2 separate regions of the Homo sapiens genome follow, and region 1 is linked to region 2. Evidence: promoter capture Hi-C in human tissues and cell types (Jung and others, 2019). All regions are on one chromosome and are shown on one strand. The core of a region is centred on a gene start or on the middle of the fragment in contact, and the rest is flanking DNA. Distances in the headings are between cores, read along the strand shown. Region 1 has its middle 460 kb from the start of DCAF4L2. Region 2 holds the start of CNBD1 (cyclic nucleotide binding domain containing 1).

The links. The method cuts DNA at HindIII sites, captures the fragments that hold promoters and counts their contacts. A contact is called where the count stands out against the background at its distance.
Region 1: a fragment that was not itself captured here is called in contact with the fragment with the promoter of CNBD1 in region 2 in 2 of the 25 tissues and cell types used here (H1 embryonic stem cells and mesenchymal stem cells).

What each region holds. Positions count from the first base shown.
Region 1 is chr8:87,408,530-87,413,825 of GRCh38, reverse strand. It overlaps a transcript of CNBD1 not described here. Among named protein-coding and RNA genes, the nearest start is that of DCAF4L2, 460 kb to the left of the region's middle. The HindIII fragment of the contact is 5,338 bases long and covers 1-4,721 here.
Region 2 is chr8:86,864,620-86,870,071 of GRCh38, reverse strand. CNBD1 (cyclic nucleotide binding domain containing 1) reads right to left here and starts at 3,657. Exons shown (of 11, transcript NM_173538.3): 1 at 3,489-3,657. The coding sequence starts at 3,576. The HindIII fragment of the contact is 15,353 bases long and covers 1-5,452 here.

The DNA.
Region 1 (5,296 bases), core at 803-3,302, 550 kb before region 2:
GTATCTCATTGTGGTTTTGATTTGCATTTCTCTGATGGCCAGTGATGATGAGCATTTTTTCATGTGTTTTTTGGCTGCATAAATGTCTTCTTTTGAGAAGTGTCTGTTCATATCCTTCACCCACTTTTTGATGGGGTTGCTTGTTTTTTTCTTGTAAATTTGTTTGAGTTCATTGTAGATTCTGGATATTAGCCCTTTGTCAGATGAGTAGGTTCTAAGTGTGTACACTGTAGATGCCTTAAGATAGAATAGCAATAAATAAAACCAAACAAACAAAAAAGAAGAATTTGGAACACTTGGTAAATATAATAATATCTTAAGCATTTTTGCCTTCAGTGGCTAAGCTCTTTAGGCTCACCAATTAAACTTCAAGGGATTTAATTGAGTCATAGTATTAAATCTACCAAGGTAAATACCTGAAGCAAAATGACACTAGGTGTTAAAAGTTAAACAATATTTTAAGTGGATGAAGACTTGAATCATTTTAAAACACAACTATAGAAATTTAAAGTAGTAAGTGTGAAAAAATAGAATCTTGGGACCCCAAAACTCACTATGCAAAAGGGAAAGTTAAGCTTGGAAAATGAGTCACACAATACTGCCTTCCTTTTGTTCCCAGATAGCTGTAATTTCACAACCCTGTGTCATAGCCTCATCCACAAGCCACGTTCCCACAAGGATATAAGGCCGCATATCTCCTCACATGGTCTCTCTCACAAATCGTTCACTAGGTACAATTGAGAGCCCCTTGTGAGCCCCTAAATCTTTTAGAATACATACCCTCCTATATTCTAGACCTAAACCCGAGTTCTGTTGTATCTCGCCCTGAAGATATCAATTACTAGCTTATCTTCACAGGTACAGGACAAGGACAGGACCAGAAATCATCCCTCCACCTACCCTGAGACAAATTCATAATTGACTTTTTCTCTATTCCTTCTTTTCGCATGTTTACCTTGTCTTATATAAGAGCCTCACAAGAATGTAATCATTTACATCACTGCCTAACCTACCTCCCTCTTTTCTCCTCTTCTTGATGTTTCCCCTTTAAATACTGAAGTTCCTCAAATCTTCTTCGGAAAAGTACATGTCACAGAGGCTCCTGTGACTATGTTTTTCCTGGATGAGTCCTCAAACTTTAGCTAAATAAACATCTATCAATTGAGACACCTGTCTCAGCCACTTTTTGCTTAACACAAGAAACACAAATGTGAAAACATAGTGTCTATTAGCATAGTGAAGTTCCTATTTCTCTTGGTGATTTTTCTTGGTGAAATTTAGCCTCATGTGCATTCGGGAAATAATTATTTGAACAGGGACCATGTGGGTGAGTGTCTTTCAAAAGCATGAACACATAGGCATGTTTTAATAAAATCACTTGCACATGATAGGCACATTTCTTTTATTCTGACATTTGAGAAGCAAATCCTGGTCATATCGAGTAACCAGAAGTGATATATTGACATAGTATTACTGTTCTGTTTTTGTTAATTTTATATTTTGCTTTGAGTACAGATGTCATTTCATCTTAGTTTTAACATTTAGAAGGAAAACACATACCAAAACACATGATATATCAAGGATTTGGATGTTAGATGATGATGGAGATTACATACATAAATGATTAGCATTTTCCAAGTTTGCCTTAAGCAGACAAAATGAAGGAGAACAGCATCTTAATTTGAAGTGAAAAATGAAAAAAACTCAGGTTCCTTAATTTTTTTCTAAACACTTTAGCATTATAAATCTGAGATACTAAGTAATTCCTGATTATCAAAAAAGGGTATTTGTGCCCCAAAAGCACTAATGAATGTCAAGGTAATCCCTAGAAAATTTCATTCAGTTGTAGTAATAAGAAAAACAAAAAAAGCTATGTCAAACACTTCTCCCGTACAAGCAAAACTTTTTTAAACAAATTGCTTACTGTTTAAACAATAATATTGTTTAGGTTTCTATTCCCTTCATGGTCACTTATTATATTATTATTGAAAAATGATATCAGAATGTCACTAAGATGGCATTTATCATATCAATATTATTGTTGTCTTAATGAAAAAATACAATGAACTTACATGAACCCTTTCAGTACATAACTTGGTGGTGAAAATTTACAAAACATCAATGGGTGTAATACAATTATTATAGTAATGGTTGTAAAAAAAAAAAATCTAAAAAAGCCCAACACATGTCTTATGCCAGAAAAGACTACAAAACTGTCAATAAATGGATATACATAAAACTTCAATAAATTTAATTTTAATAAGTGACATCATTAACTGTACTTAACATATTTCCAAGAAATGGCTTAATTGGTTGGATATGAATCAACAACTTTTGGCAATAATACAATGTTTGGAGGATAATGTAGAATGAGTTTTTAAAAATATGTGTGAATGAAATATATATATATATATATATATATATATATGATATAGCTAGGTTAATCCTGCCTATGAAATGCTTGGGCAAAGCTATAGAAAGCAAAAAAGTGGACTTTTGTGGTGAATCACAAGTTAAACATAGGGTTGTAAGAAATCCTGTTGTTTATTCACTCTGTAAATATGTTTAGCTTCAACTATATGCCAGAAATGAGGATAAATAAAACACAGCCTCTGACCTTGGATGGCTATACACTCTATTCTTAGAGACAGGTAAGTAAAGCAATAATGAAATGAAATATGAAAAATGCAAGCATACTTGTATTTCTGGAGTTATTGCTGGTTTTGTTCCAGACCCCCAAGTATCATAATAAAGCGAGTCACACAAATTTTGGTTTCCCAAAGCATATAAAAGTTATGTTTAAACAATACTGCAGTGTATAGACTATTAAGTGCAATAGCAGTATATCTAAAAAATGTACATACACCAATTAAAAAATACTTTCTTGCTAAAAAAATGCTAACAATCATCCGAGCTTTCAGTGAGTCATAATCTTTTTGCAGATGGAGGGTCTTTCCTTGATGTGAACAGCTGCAGATTTATCAGGGTGGTAGTTGCTAATAGTTGGGGTGGCTGTGGCAGTTTCTCAAAATACGACAACAATGCAACAATGAAATTTGCTCATCAGCTGACTCTTCCTTTCACAAAAGATTCCTCTGTAGCAGCAATGCTGTTTGATGGCATTTTACCCACAGTAGAACTTCTTTTAAAACTGCAGTCAATCCTCCCAAATCCTGTCAGTCAATCCTCTCAAATCCTGTCATTGCTTCACTAAGTTTATGTAATATTCTAAATTTTTTGTTGTGATTTCAACAATGTTCACATCATCTTCACCAGGAGGTGATGTATCTCAAGAAACCACTTTCTTTGCTTATTTATAAGAAGCATCACCTCATGCATTCAAATTTTATTATGAAATTGCAGCAATTTAGTTACTCCTGTTAATGTTGACATATCAGCCTCCTCCCATGAATCACCACATTCTTAATGGCATCCAGAATAGTAAATTCTTTATAGAAGATTTTCATTTGCTTTGCTCAGAACCATCAGAGGAATCACTATCTATGGGAGCTATATCCTAATGAAATGTATTTTTTAAATAATATGACTTGAAAATCGAAATTACTTTTCAATCCTTGGGCTATAGAATAAATGTTGTGGTAGCAGGCATGTGGATCTCCATCAGAGCTCTTGGTTGACTATGTGCATTGTAAATGAATCTTTTCTTCTGAGCAGTAGGTCTCAATTCTGGGCTTAAAATATTCAGTGAACCATGCTATAAACAGATGGGCTGTCATCCAGGCTTTTATGTTCCATTTATGTAGTACAGGAAGAATAAATTTAACTTAATTCTTTTTTTTTTTGAAACAGAGTCTCGCTCTGTCACCCAGGCTGGAGTGCAGTGGCACTATCTCGGCTCACTACAACCTCCCTCTCCTGGGTTCAAGCGATTCTCCTGCCTCAGCCTCCTGAGTAGCTGGGACTACAGGTACACACCACCACACCAGGCTAATTTTTTCTATTTTAGTAGAGATGGGGTTTCACTGTGTTGCACAGGCTGGTCTGGAATTCCTGAGATCTGGCAATCCTCCCGCTTCAGCCTCCCAAAGTGCTAGGATTACAGGCATGAGCCACCACACCCAGCCAAATTAATTCCTTAGCTTAATTCTTAAGCCCCTGGGTTTTCAGAGTGGTAAATGAGGATTAGCTTCAACTTGAAGTCATCAGCTTTATTAGGCCCTAACAGGAGAGTCTGCCTATTATTTGAAGCTTTGAAACCAGGCATTGACTTCTCTTCTCCTGCTATGAAAGTTGAAGATGGCATATGCTTCCAAAATTGGGCTGTTTTGTCTATTGTTTACTGTAGCTATTTTAATCAAAGATCTTAGTTATATCTCCTGGATAATTTGCTGCAGCATCTACATCAGCACTTGCTGCTTCACCTTACAGTTTTATGTTATGGAGATGGCTTCTTTCCTTAAAGCTCATGAACAAACCTCTGTTAGCTTTCAAATTTCTGCAGCTTCCTCATCTCTCAGCCTTTATAGAATTGAACAGTTAGGACCTTGCTCTAGATGCTGAGGCTTGAGGGAGTGTTGTGGCTTATTTGATCTTCTATTCAGACCACTAAAGCTTTCTCTGTATCAGCAGTAAGAACTGTTGCTTTCTTATTATTTGCATGTTTACCGGAGTAAAACTTTTTAATTTTCTTCAAGAACTTCTCCTTTGCATTCAAAACATGGCTACTATTTAGCTAAAAGCTTTCAGCCTTTCTCAGCTTTCGACATGCCTTCCTCATTAAGCTTAATCATTTCTACATTTTGATTTAAAGTAAAAGAAATGCAACCCTTCCTTTCACTTGAAAACTTAAGAGGCCACTGTATGGTTATTAATTGGCCTAATTTGAATTTTGTCGGGCCTTAGGGAACACGTAGGTCTGAGGAGAGAGAGAGAGATGGGGGAATGACAAACTGGTGAGGGAGTCAAAACACATACATTTATTGATTAGGTTTGCAGTCTTATATGGATGCAGGTCATTGCATCCCAAAACAATTACAATAGTAACATCAAAGATCACTAATCCCAGATCACGATAAAAGATGTAATAATAATGAGAAGTTTGAGCTACTGAGAGAATTACTAACATGTGACACGGAGACACAAAATTAGCATATACTTTGGAAAACTTGTGCTGATAAACTTCCTTGATGCAGGGCTGTCACCAACCTCTAATTTGTTTTAAAAATGCAACATCTGTGAAGCATGATATAATGAAGCACGATAAACTGAGGAATGAGTACAAGTATGCCTACACTATCATAAATACTGAGAGACGAAAAGAAAAAAGCAGCCCAAA
Region 2 (5,452 bases), core at 2,408-4,907:
AAACATTTTTGGAACTGGAAAAGCACAGAAATTTTTTTTTCAAGTCAACCAGTAGTCAAAATGTAAAGCATATTTTTAAACCCATTCTTCCTCAGAAGAATAAGCCTAATTAGTGTGAAGAAAATAGAGTAGCAGCAAATTTATCCCAACAAAGGAAGTTAACTGGACCATAAACCAAACGGTGAAGGACAGCTTCTTGCCTTCCATTAAAAATTTTTTAAAATAAGAATTTTTTTTTCTTTTTTTCTATCTCTTCAGGAAATCAACTTATAAAAATAATGGGTCATGTGTGTACTTAAACCAGATGCCATTTCACTTAGGTGGTAAAACTGTACAGTTTGTTAGCTATGATGTTTTTAAAATAATTCTCATCCAGAATGAAAAGTGGAACAGCTCTTCTGCTTTTGAGAACATTCATTCCTCCCTTAAGGTTAGCAAACTGTGAAGAATCCTGAGACAGAAGTCAAAGAGACCAGAGAAGGAAAAGACTTGAAAGTTTCAAAGAAGAAAGAACCACAAGCAGCAAACTAGCTCAAGAAGCTTAACTACTTGAAGTGTCTGAGTCTGAATTTCAGAGTCAACAAGATAGCAGTGGAGGAGGGTTTGAAGATGTGTGACATGTTGCCTCCCATATATTAATAGCATTTAAGTAGCCAAATGGGCAAGAAATTCAGGGCAGGAGGTAAGGGGCAACCCGGAATGCTGCCAGCTTTGTTGTTGTTGTGAGTAGAGTTTGTTTACACAGATGACGCTACGAGGAGCCTCTGCTACTTAACATCTGTGTGAACCTTAGTATGAAACCTAAGCCTTATTATCCTTAAGTGTAAACTGGAACACGTATTAATTTTATATTGCTGCTGTAAAAGATTGCCACTGCCTTAGTGGCTTAAAAAAATAAAAACGTATTATCTAACAGTTCTGGAAATGAGAACTCTGAACCTGATTTCACTGGGCTAAAATCACATCAGCAGGACTGCAATTCTTCTGGAGACGCTAGGGGAGAATCCATTTCTTTGCCTTTCCCTGCTTCTAGAGGCTGCCTGAATTCCTTGGCTTTTGTCCCCCCTCCATCTTCAAAGCCAGCAAGGGCCAGTCGAGTCTTTCTCACATATCATTCTGACTCTCTCGCCTTCCTCTTTTGCTTATAAGGGCTCTCACAATTGTGGCTGGTACCCAGACAAACCGGAATATTCTCCCATCTCAAGTGGAGCCAATTAGCTGCTTTAATTGCATGTGCAGCCTCAATTCCCCCTAACATGTAGTATAACCTATTCATAAGTTTTGTGAATTAAGGCATGGATATCACTGGGACCGTTAATTCTGTCCACCGAAGACATAGAGTTCTTGTAAGAAATACATGAAATAACATAACGTGCTAAATGTTTACATACTAACTACAGAAAGCACTCAATTAACAATATTCACATATAAATACAGACAGCCGGGGCGTGGTAGCTCACGCCTGTAAATCCTAGCACTTTGGGAGGCTGAGGGGGGCAGATCACGAGGTGAGGAGATAGAGACCAGCCTGGCCAACACAGTGAAACCCCATCTCTACTAAAAATACAAAAATTAGCCAGGCACACCTGTAGTCCCAGCTACTCAAGAGGCTGAGGCAGGATAATCGCTTGAACCCAGGAGGCGGAGGTTGTGGTGAGCTGAGATCGTGCCACTGCACTCCAGCCTGGGCAACAGAGCAAGACTTCATCTCAAAAATAAATAAAAATGAATAAATAAATAAATAAATACTTACAGAGAAGGTGAATATGAGTCACTAAATCCAACCTAACTCAACAAATACAAAGTATCAAGGATGTATACAATGGCTGGATTTTCTTTTTAGGTATGTAAATGTGCATTCCTATTTATGCCCACTGCATTTAAAACTCATTTATATATCCTTTGTAATTCAGGTTCAGTCATTTCATAAATTGAAAGCATTCATTACACATTGGCTTCCATGAGATCATTGTTTCAGCAGTGAGACAATCAGTGCTTGCTAAGGAAAATTATTGTCTTGCTACAGTTAGCAAAAAGACACAGTTATTAAGGCAAGCAGGGCACGTCCTCAAAGAGAAGTTGCAGACATAGAAACATCAAGTGCGAACCTCTAAAGGAACACTGGGAGCTCCACCGCTTTCCATTATGCTCTATTCAGTTCTGAGATCTAAATTGCTGCTGATTTTTCGTCTTTTAATCACTTCACAGAAGTTAAGTGTCCTTGGGAGGCACTACAGAGGGTAGCACAAATCTCATCTCATTGATTCTAAATTAATTTGATCTTTTAACTCCCAGCTACCGAGTTTCCTGGGCTTTTTAAAAATATTATTTTATGGTGACTTTTATTTTCTTTTTCACAAATAAAACATGAATAGTAGAAGCTGTGTTTCTTCAGCAAAATTGCACTTAATTCTTATTTCCACTCAAGTAGAAATAGAAAACTTTGACCAGATGCAAGATTATTTTCACTATAATACAAATGGAATTAATTTTGTTTAACATAAGGATTTTGTCTAACACTATTCAAGACATCAGTGTACCCCTTCAAGGAGTATCAACTGCCACCTGTTATACCTTTTAACCTGGAGACTATGAGCATTAATTTTTTAAAATGTATTTGGAGAAATTAACTTTCACAGGAAGGGAAAAGGATGGATGGCTTAGCTTCTTCAAATCAATACTATAAATCTGCCCAATGAATAATAAAATAAGAGTTAATGCTTTATTGAAGTTGAAAAGGATCACAAGTATTACCTTTGTTATCCAGATATTTTTTAAAAATCTTAACTAACACTGGAACTCATACATATTGCTAGTCAGAATGATGGTGTTCAAATAATAGATCTTATAAATTCGATGGCCATGAGAAGTGTTTACAATCTTAAGAAAACGTTATAGGTTTAGACTAATTACATAAAATGAGAAAATACTGTCAATTATATAAACTTTGAAATATCTAGTTCTATACTTAATTCTTATAAGTAAGACTAGAAAATAAAAAAGTTAAATAGGAATAAATTTCACAGTCAGAATAGTAGGAATTATCTTTTTTTCCTTGTCAAATTGAAATGAGAATTCTCCTAGAGAATATTAAGTATTAATTATCCCATTAAGCGTAGTAGGACCAACTCTTGGTAGGGAGTAGAAGATCTGCTAGAAAAAGGAACCTGATAGCTGGTGGAACATGTGGCCTCTCTAAATCTTTGTTTTCTTTCATCTTTAGAAATATTTCAATGTATCTGAAGCTCTAAGAGTTCGTAAAGATCCTCATTTTACAGAGAAAAAATACTTAAGACCTAGAGTACTGAAATGACTTCAAGTAGACCAAGCAGGATTTACACATCTATGTTCTTTCCATTCTTCAGCACTGTCAATAAGATTCCCAATGTCCCTATCAACCCTGAAATACCCCCAATTTTCATAGCTGGGGTAAGAACCGCTGAAAACAATGGTAGGTGAATAAGAGCATCAAAGTATTTCCCACTCACTTGGTATACTGTGAAGTGGAGGAGGAGGCACATTGTTAATAGCTGTCATGTGAGACAAAATAGCTGCTGGAAGAGAAGACATCGGCATCTTGATGGCTCAAAGGCAGATAGATGACCAGAGGCTGCTTGAGAGGCAAATGATCACTCTTTGCCTGCAGGCTCATAAAGCAGAACTTCAAGGTCCTCTCTGATAGGTTGAATCCTACGGAATCTTCTTGTTCATAGTTCTTATCCATTGTTTGTGCATTTCCAAGAGTGTCATCTAGACCAGGAAGAACTATGCTACATTTTAGTCCAGTGGAAATCATAAGGAGGACTTTATGAGCTATAGAGAGTAGCAATAATGAAGAAGGAAACTGTAGCCCACAAGGCTGATACAGCAGAATCAACAGCACTCATGAGTCTAGGTGAAATGAAAGTATTCACTTCCTTGGTCTTCCATAGTCCAGAGCCCTTTTCCTGCCTACCAAATGTTTACACTGGGTATCACAGGCCCTTTCTGTACCAGCAGTAACAGAGATAGCATATTTATACTGTTCTTCATGGCCACATTTATAGGGTAAACCATCCCTTCTAATTATCATACACCAATAAACCCACCCCAGCTTACATTTAACTATATTCTGCTAGAGTGTGGAACATGTTTTTTTGTTATTTTCTGCTGCTTCACAATAATTAAGGATAGTTACAATGGCTAGGGTTTACAATCCTAACTAATGTATCTTTTGATGCTGTGTATTATCTTCCAAGGCCTTTAGAAATAGGGTCCTGGTATCATAACTGTTAGAGTGATACGGACAGGAGACAGGGAAACACTGGGTAGAAGAGGGCAGTTCCCCAGTAAAGGCCCCACCCTCAAGCCTGGAGACCTGCGGCCCTAGATTGGGACAGGCATTCCTGTTTTTGCACCTAAAAAGTTGCCTTTTGGCCTGCAACACACCCTATCCTGTACCCATATAAACCCTGAATCCCAGGCTCCAGAAGCAGACGAAGAGATGAGACAAATAGATGAATGGCAGAATGACAGGCAGAGAAAGTGAGAAAAGGAGGAACATCTGAACACTGAGAGGAGTTCAGCCACTGTACGGCCAAACTCCAGGGGAAGATCATTTTCCCACTCCATCCCCCTTCCAGCTCCCCATCCATCCTGCTGAGAGCCACCTCCACCACTCAATAAAACCCTGAGTTCTTCCTTCAAGCCCATGTGTGACCCAGTACTTCTGGGATGCTGGGCAAGAATTCAGGATACAGAAAGCTATCACACTGGCCCTCTACCCTTGTGAAAAGGCAGAGGGTCCATTGAGCTTGTTAACATCAAGCCATCCATGGAGGGTAGGGCTACAAGGGCACACTGCAACACAATGCCCACTTGGGCTCCTGCACCTGTCCGTCTGTGTGCTCCCCCTCCCCACAGGGTTTGAGCAGCAGCGATGACCAACCAAGCAGGCAAACCACAGCCCTGTCACACATTCTGTGAGGGGAATCAGGGAACTCCCCCATTTCATCAGGTAATATACAAAAGGACTGTGGCTGTCTGATACCTGAACTGGACTAGCAGAGTGTAAACCAACCATTTCTGGAGCAACTTCATCTAGATAACATTAATAACTAGAATAGAAAACATTAATTATGTTACAAAAGTAACAAATTTATTTTGCAACAGTTTCTATTAAATTATATCTGCACAATAAATTTACTCAGGTTATAACTTTTCAATTGAATGTATTTTCCTATTTCCAGTTTTACAAACTCCAAACTCACCATAGACTCAATTTTGTTGTTGAGTCTCATCACTATTGTTTTTTTTTTTTCTGGAGACCAAGTCTCACTCTGTCACCCAGGCTGGAGTGCAGTGGCTCAATTCTGACTCATTCCAACCTCCACCTCCCGGGTTCAAGTGATTCTCCTGCCTCAGCCTCCCGGGTAGCTGGGATTACAGGCAGGTGCCACCACGCCCAGCTGAT